3 separate regions of the Homo sapiens genome follow, and regions 2 and 3 are each linked to region 1. Evidence: promoter capture Hi-C in human tissues and cell types (Jung and others, 2019). All regions are on one chromosome and are shown on one strand. The core of a region is centred on a gene start or on the middle of the fragment in contact, and the rest is flanking DNA. Distances in the headings are between cores, read along the strand shown.

Region 1 (2,609 bases), core at 74-2,573:
GCCTAAGGTGCAGTCACACTTACTAATTGGGTCTGACTCAGTCAAGAGCAATAGCTTTCTAAATACCCAGGAAGAAATCATTTCAAAATATAATATTGGCTGGGCATGAGGAAATGTATGCTATTTACAATATTCACTGATTTCATTTTTACAACTATACAGGTGTTTTTTTTTTTTTAATTTGTCAACATTTCAGATGATGTAATGCTTATCAGTGCATATTTTTACATAAACGACTGTGAGGAGCATGAAGCAGCACGGGGTGCATAGAAGGACAGAACATTCTTAAAGCCCTCCTTGGTGCTGGAGATACATTGTACTAGCATGAAATTACGTGTTTGAAAAATCTCAAAAAGCATTGAATCTGAAGGGAGATGTTCCTCATTGACCCCTCCACTTGCGTGCACTTGGAATGTCACATCCCTTTCCAGGTTGTAATATTCAAAGTGGCAATCTTCCTGTCTCTCCTTCTGTCACCAAACCTGGTTTATTCTGAATGAGGCAGCTCTCTAGTACTGGAGTTAGGCTCTGAGCTGTCACTTGGCTAGGTAAGCGCCTTCCAATGATTACAGAGCAATTTCTCCCGGGCCTCTCCATTGCCACCTCTTCTCCCCCAAAAAATAAATATGATATTTAAAAAATAAATAAAAGCACGAAATTTTAAACACAGATGAAGCGGAAAAAGAAAGAAGACTTTACCCATGCATCCAATGCCACCCCCCACCCCCCCGCCCCCCCGGTCAATGATAAGGAAACGAAATTCATCACAAACCGAAAGGCTCACCATTCGCGAAGCTCTGGAACAAGGAGAGAGCCAGTATCCACATGCCCCTGCCGCTCCCCGGCCTCCCGCGAGCGACGCGCCGGCCTCGCCCCCCGCGCTCCGCCCGGCCCGGCTCCGCTCGCCGCTCGGCACCTGCCCGGGGGCCGCCGCCCGCCCGCCGCCCGCCGCCGCCGCCGCCGCTGCCTAGCCGCCCGGGCACGCGGCGCGGCCGGGCTCCGGAGCGAGGGCTGCGCTCGCCGCGCGCTGCGCTCCTGCACACCTGCTCCCGGGCGCCGCGCCCCACGCTGCGGCCGGAGCCCAGGTGCGCCGTCAGCTCAGTGGGCCCCCGGCAGGTCGGCAGGTGGAGAGAGCCGCAGACGCGGGCGTGAGCTCATCCCGGGCACTCGGCGCCCAGAATGCGCAGCCAGCGGCCTCCCGTGCGCCAGCCCTCACCCTCCGCATCCAGGCAGCAGGCGGGCGGGCAGGCTCATCTTTGCCGTGCTCCGGCCTCAGTCACATGGATCCCTCTGCCAACCTTCCCTGCCTGCGAGCCGGGCGAGTGAAGCCGAGCGCGGAGGCGAGCAGGGACCCCTCCCCTGCCTCTGGCCGCTGGGGCGCTCTGCAGTCTTAAAGCAGCAGCAGAGACGTGCAGCCGAACTGAGGCAGGACCGGGGAGAGCGCAGCCACCGCACAGTCACGCACAGTCATCAGGAGGAATTTCTTAGAGGCTTAAATAATCATTTCAACAGCTGCTTATTTTTAGTTATTTTCCTGCCGGTTGCTAATAAGGGATGGCCGGGGTGACTATTGCGGAAGGTGGCCAGCCACGGAGAGGTGAACATGAAATGCTCGTAGTTTTAATAAAATGTGCAGCTGGATTCCGATTCCGTATTTACTCTCAGAAAAGTCCAGTTCATTTGCTTAGAGGGAAATGCTCCTTCCAAATCCTTGCTGCTACTGTAAAGATCTCTATGATTTCACGGGCTAATTTTTAATTATCTTGAATACATGGTAGAATGCAAACACAAGCACTTCTAATTTTGCTCTCTGAATGGCGCATAAAAAAGCTGATTGAAATTGCTGATAATTTGAGTAATCCCAAACATATAGCCCCTTTCACGTTTCTGTGAAAAGTCAATATGTTAACATTTCCTGAATGTTCTGTATGATTCTTGAAGTCATGATAATATTTAAATTAAAGCTCTCACAAGGGCGTACATCTATCCATCACTTTGCAATATAATGACCGACAGGGCTGGAATGCACCCCAGTGTAGAAGCCAGGATGGAATGCTCACAGTCAGGACAATCAGGACTGAAAAAAAGCATTCGGTGGGGGTCAAGGGAGACATTTTCAAGGGAAATTGAGTAGGCTTTTTCCTAGGCACTAGGTATCCTAACTGGGCTCCATGTCCCCCTCCAAATACAGAAGAATGATGCACATCTCAGACAGCTCACAAAACACAGGAGAAGCAAATGGTGAGGCAGAAACAAAATGGTGCTTTACCAGGGTTGGGCACAAGATGGCCAGGCCCTGTGTACCAGGAAGGGTCAGCTGAGCCGGTGATGCTGCCTGGCTCACCACGGCTCTGCAGCTGCAGGTGATCACGTGCTGCCGCCCACTCAGGCTGCGCAGGCCCAGCCCCCAGTACCACGCACCAGAACCAGCATCCTCTGGCTTTGCAAATGCTGGGTGCTCAGTCCCTGGTCCTTCCCAAATGCAACCCAGGAAGGCAGGGGATGGGCCTGATTCTGTCCCTGCATCTGGCTGGTTGACCTATTCATTAATTCTTACTTGCACACTAGCCACCTGCAAGGGTGCCCAGGCACTGGGGTCAGGGAAACCC
Region 2 (2,609 bases), core at 52-2,551, 50 kb after region 1:
ATTCACTATCAGGAGAACAGCATGGGAAAGACCTATACCCATGATTTAATTATCTCCTACCGGGTTCGTCCCACAACACATGGGAATTGTGGGAGTTACAATTTAAGATGAGGTTTGGGGAGGGACACAACCAAACCATTAGAGACCTGAAAGAGGCTGTTGTACTCACTGATTCATGTAGTTTGCATGTGTGTCCTCTCTAAATCACATGTTGAATTGTAATCCCCAGTACTGGACATGGGGCCTGGTTGGGGGTGATTGGATCACAGGGGTGGATTTCTCATGAATGATTTAGCATCATCCTCTTGATGCTATTCTTGTGATAGTGAGTTCTCATGAGATCTAGCTGTTTAATAGTGTGTGGCAACTCCTCCCTCTCTCTCTTGCTCTTGCTTTCACCATGTGATGTGCTGGCTTCTTCTGTATCTTCCTCCATGATTGCAAGCTCCCCGAGGACTCACAAGAAGCTGAGCAGATGGTCAGTATCATGCTTCCTGTACAACCTGCAAAACCATAAGCCAGCTAAACCTCTTTTCTTTATAAATTACTCAGTCTTAGGTATTCCTTTATAGCAATGCAAGAACTACATAACACAGAAAATTGTTATCAGGAGTGAGATATTACTGTAAAGATACATGAAAATGTGGAAGTGACTTTGGAACTGGGTAACAGGCAGAGGTTAGAAGATTTTGGAGGGCTCAGAGGAAGACAGGAAGACGAGGGAAAGTTTAGAACTTCTTAGAGGCTTGTTAGATGATTGTGACCAAAATGCTGATAGTGATATGAACAGTGAAGTTCAGCCTGCTGAGGTCTCAGATGGAAATAAGGAACTTATTGGGAACTAGAGCACAAGTCATCCACGTTATGCTGTAGCAAAGAGATTGGTTGCATTGTGTTCACGCCCTAGAGATCTGTGGAAATTTGAACTTAAGAGTGATGATTTAGGGTAACTGGTAGAAAAAAAAAATCTAAGCTACAAAGCATTCAAGATGTGTCTTGGCTGCTTCTAACAACCTACTCTTAGACATAGGAGCAAAGAAATGACTTAAAGTTGGAAGTTATATTTAAAGGGGAAGCATATCAGAAACATTTGGAAAATTTGCAGCCTGGCCATGTGGTAGAAAAGAAAAGCCCAATTTCAGTGGAAGAATCCAAGTGAGCTACAGAACAACCACTTATTAGAGAGATTTGCGTAACTAAAAGGGAGCCAGGTGCTGATAGCCAAAACAAGGGGGGAAAAGGTCTCAAAGACATTTCAGAGATCTCTGAGGCAGCCCCTCCCATCACAGGCCATGGGTTCTAGGAGCAAATAATGTTTTGGGGGGCCAGGACCAGGGCCACAATCCCCTGCACAGTCATAGGACTTTGCTTCTCGCATTCCAGTCACTCCAGCTGCAGCTGGAGGGGCCAAGTTACAGCCTGGGCCTCCACTCTAGAGGGAGAGAGCCATCAGCCTCAGTGGCTTCCACATAGTGTTAAGCCTGTAGGTTCACAGAGTGCAAAAGTGAAGAATGTTTGGCAGCCTCTGTCTACATTTCATAGGATGGATGGGAAAGCCAGAGTGCCCAGGAAGAAGCCTATCTCAGGGGCAGAACCCTCATAGACAACCTCTACTAGGGCAGTCATGAAGGGAAATATGGGGTGTGAGCCCGTACACAGAGTTCCCAGTGTGGGAACTGCGTAGTGGAGCTGTAGGGAGGGGGTCACTTTCCCCCAGACCCCAAAATGGTAGATCCATAAGCAGCTTGTACCCTGGAAAAGCCACAGGCACTTAACTGCAGCCTATGAGAGCAGCTGTGGGGACTGAACCATGCAAAGCCTAGAAGCAGAGCTGCCATGGCTTTGGGAACCCAACCCTTGCACCTGTGTTCCCTGGATGCAGGACGTGGAGTTGAAGGAGACTGCTTTGGAACTTGAAGATTTAATGACTGCCCTGCTTGGTTTTGCACTTGTGTGGGGGCTGTACATGTAAATAGCCCCTGTCTTTTTGGCTGATTTATCCCTTTTGGAATGTGAATGTTTAACCAATGCCTGTACCCCCATTGTATCTTAAAAGCAAGTAATTTGTTCTGATTTTCCAGACTCATAGGTGGTAGGGACTCAACTCCAGATGGGACTTTGGACTTGGGACTTTGGACTTTTGAGTGATGCTAAAATGAATTCAGACTTTTGGGAAACTACTGGCTGGGGATGATTATATTTCTCAGTGGAAGAAGAACATGAGATTTGAGGGGCCAGGAGTGGAATGATGTAGTTTAGAGGTTGTTCCCTCTGAATCTCATGTTGAATTGAATCCCCAGTGTTGGAGGTGGGGCCTGGTGAAAGGTGATGGGTTCATGAAGGCAGATTTCTCATGAATGGTTTAATGCCAACCCCTTGGTGCTGTCCTTGATAGTGAGCATGTTCTCAGAAGATCTGGTTGTTTAAAAATCTGTGGCAACTACTCCCTCTCTTTTGCTCCCACTCTCACCGTGTGATATGTTGGCTCCCCCTTTGCCTTCCACCGTGACTGCAAGCTCCCTGAGGCCTCACCAGAAGCAGAGCAGATGCTGATGCCATACTTCCTATACAGCCTTCAGAAACATGAACCAATTAAACCTCTCTTCTTT
Region 3 (2,609 bases), core at 76-2,575, 43 kb before region 1:
TGTTAGCCTCCATAACAGTAAGAACCATATTCCTTTTCTTTATAAATTACACATTTCTAGAATTCTGTTACAAGCAACAGAAAGCAGACTAATACAGACATGGATATCCTGGGGAAGTGACAGCATTACGCAGCTGACCACACCTCACAACTAGACAGACAAGGTACCACTAACAGAATTCCTTTCCTTATGGCAGCACTTTGGTCTGTTTTTGCTGATATTTTACAATGATGAAAATCTGTTATTCTCTTTGGAAGTACTAAATTTAGGGTAAGTCAGAGAAGTCAGTTTCTAAGAGGAAAATAATACTCATTCCTAAATTTCTTGCCCCTAAATTTCTTTCCTCAAGTCTCCAATAAGTGCTGCACAGCTGAAATCTCATATGTTTTTCAAAATAATTATGGAACATCTGCCATATGGTAGATACAGATGTGATCACTGGCTTTTGCTTTACAAATGCAAATGATGCCTTTGACGTTCTCATTGCCTCTGTTTGCCAAGAAGGCAGTGAAATGATGAGAACTCCACTCTGTCACGTGAGCACACATATGCTACCCCATTACCCACCACAAGTCTGAGAAAACACCCAGGGAAGGACCACTAAAGCCACCTATAGGAGTGACTCAAATTCTGTTAAAGCAAAACACAAAATGTTCATGAAAGTGAAAGAGCCATGATAGGTCTGATCAATCGTGTGATGTTTTAGTGCTGCAACACCCTCTAGTCACTGATCTCGGGCCCCCAGACTCCCCCTTCTCTTTCGTCTCTCAGGTTAATGATTTAGAAAGGTGACATATGTGTGATTCTATTATTGTTAAACCTTGTAGTTGGTTGGTGAGTTAGGAATTACTAGAATCTACAGACTTTAGTATATATAGAATATACTGGCATTTATGTATAGAATCTGTGGGTAATGAACTCCAACTTGGATAGATCAGACAGGAAGGAAAAGAGGAAGGGAAGAATGGGGAAAAAAAAAACACCTTTATACCTGTGTCTGGACCGTTGAGTGTTGTTGGGGAAAATCCCACAGCTGGGAAGATTTGTGTCACAATAAATTTGCCGTCACCAGCCTAAATGGTCCTTCAGTGTCTCTAAGGAGCATCCCCTCTCCTGCTCTACAAAATGACCATTTCTCCTTCTCTAACCTACTCAAGCCTCAGACTCTTTACTCTCAGGACCCAGTCTTCTCTTCTGCTTAATAAAGAAAGGGGGGAAATAGCTAAAAATCCTTTAAACCACCCCTCCATCAGCACCAAGTCTGTAAACACTCCAGGGACCAATCCACTCTTCCCTCACTTAGGTTAGAATGGAGACAGTGACCTGTGCAGTACAAGGCCACTCCCCAAGTCCTGTCCACAGGGATAGGGGAGGCTTCCTGGAGCTCTGAATGTGGATGTGGCCTTGCTGATGGAGTGTGGTTCAGAATCAGGGGAGCACAGAGTCCATGCACCTTCCTTTAAATTGAAGCACAGAAGGTTGTTTTTCCAGAGGATCACAGAAATTCAAAATGCACGCTCTGCAGGATGCTTTGGTTGCCTTCCGCATTCCAACCTTTCCCTGATGATTATCCTGTTCCTCCTGGACCCTTGTTCTTTCCATTGCCATTGCCTCTCCACTGACTCTGGTCATCATTTAGGTAGGCTCAAGTCCTCCTTTCCCAGCAGGGCTCTCTCTGCTCCTACCACCCTCTGCCTGCTAGCCCCTATCTCCCCTCCCCGTTCCCAGCACACCTTCCTGGAGAAGATGAGAGCCCCCACGGTTTCATTTTCTCATTTCTCAGCCACTTTGCAACTCACCCTAACCTGCCTCCTGCCCTGCCCACTTGGTTTTCGACTACTTATCTGTTCCTTCTCAGTCTTCTTTACTCAGTCATCTGTCTCTGCACAATCCTGAAATGTTGACATTTTTATGGATTCTGTCCTAGGCCTTCTGTATCTGTTCATGCTACCTGTGCTCTTTAGAGACCTCTACTATATCCATTGCTAAATTCCCATCTATAAGTCAACATTCCCCTCCATCTAGGACTATCTACTGAGCTCCAGACTTAACTTCCCGCTGCTACATTGTACCCCACCCAATTGTATTCAGAGGTGTTTCAAGCTGACCATGATCACACCTGCACTTAAGCTTTCTCCTTCCCCACCCCCATAATTGGTCTAATGCTAATGTTTCCTAAATCAGTGAAAGGCACGTCCACTCAGCTGTCTGAACGAGACTCTTCTAATATTCTTGAATTAGCTCACTTCCCCCCAACTCCTAGGGAGCTGTCATGACCTCCCAAATGGCCTTCTAGAATCCACCCTTGCTCCTCTCAAATCCACCCTCCAGTCTGCTACTTCTCTTCTTATAATAATCTGATCACACAGATGACTGCCCAGTGACTTCCAAGTAAACCTTAATCTTAATATGAGCCAAGTATCTCTTAAAATCTGGCCACTGCCAACTTTCCTAGCTCTCTCTTGTATGTCTATCTCTCTTTCCCCCTCTCTGTTTTGTGAGGGTTCCTTCTGTTTGTTCATTCCCCCTCCATCCTGCCTTCTGGCTCATGAGGCTGACCAGTAATCATGACATCAGTGAGATTCCATGCCCTCTGACTTTTGGTGTGT

Evidence for each region. The method cuts DNA at HindIII sites, captures the fragments that hold promoters and counts their contacts. A contact is called where the count stands out against the background at its distance.
Region 2: a fragment that was not itself captured here is called in contact with the fragment with the promoter of DSCAM in region 1 in 3 of the 25 tissues and cell types used here (IMR-90 fibroblasts, dorsolateral prefrontal cortex and hippocampus).
Region 3: a fragment that was not itself captured here is called in contact with the fragment with the promoter of DSCAM in region 1 in 6 of the 25 tissues and cell types used here (dorsolateral prefrontal cortex, hippocampus, lymphoblastoid cells and 3 more).

The regions. Positions count from the first base shown.
Region 1 is chr21:40,845,835-40,848,443 of GRCh38, forward strand. It overlaps DSCAM (DS cell adhesion molecule), which reads right to left and starts at 1,324. Exons shown (of 33, transcript NM_001389.5): 1 at 785-1,324. The coding sequence starts at 827. The HindIII fragment of the contact is 24,098 bases long and covers 1-2,609 here.
Region 2 is chr21:40,895,978-40,898,586 of GRCh38, forward strand. No RefSeq gene overlaps it. Among named protein-coding and RNA genes, the nearest start is that of DSCAM, 50 kb to the left of the region's middle. The HindIII fragment of the contact is 4,744 bases long and covers 1-2,609 here.
Region 3 is chr21:40,802,807-40,805,415 of GRCh38, forward strand. All of the region lies in intron 1 of DSCAM (DS cell adhesion molecule), which reads right to left. Among named protein-coding and RNA genes, the nearest start is that of DSCAM, 43 kb to the right of the region's middle. The HindIII fragment of the contact is 4,192 bases long and covers 1-2,609 here.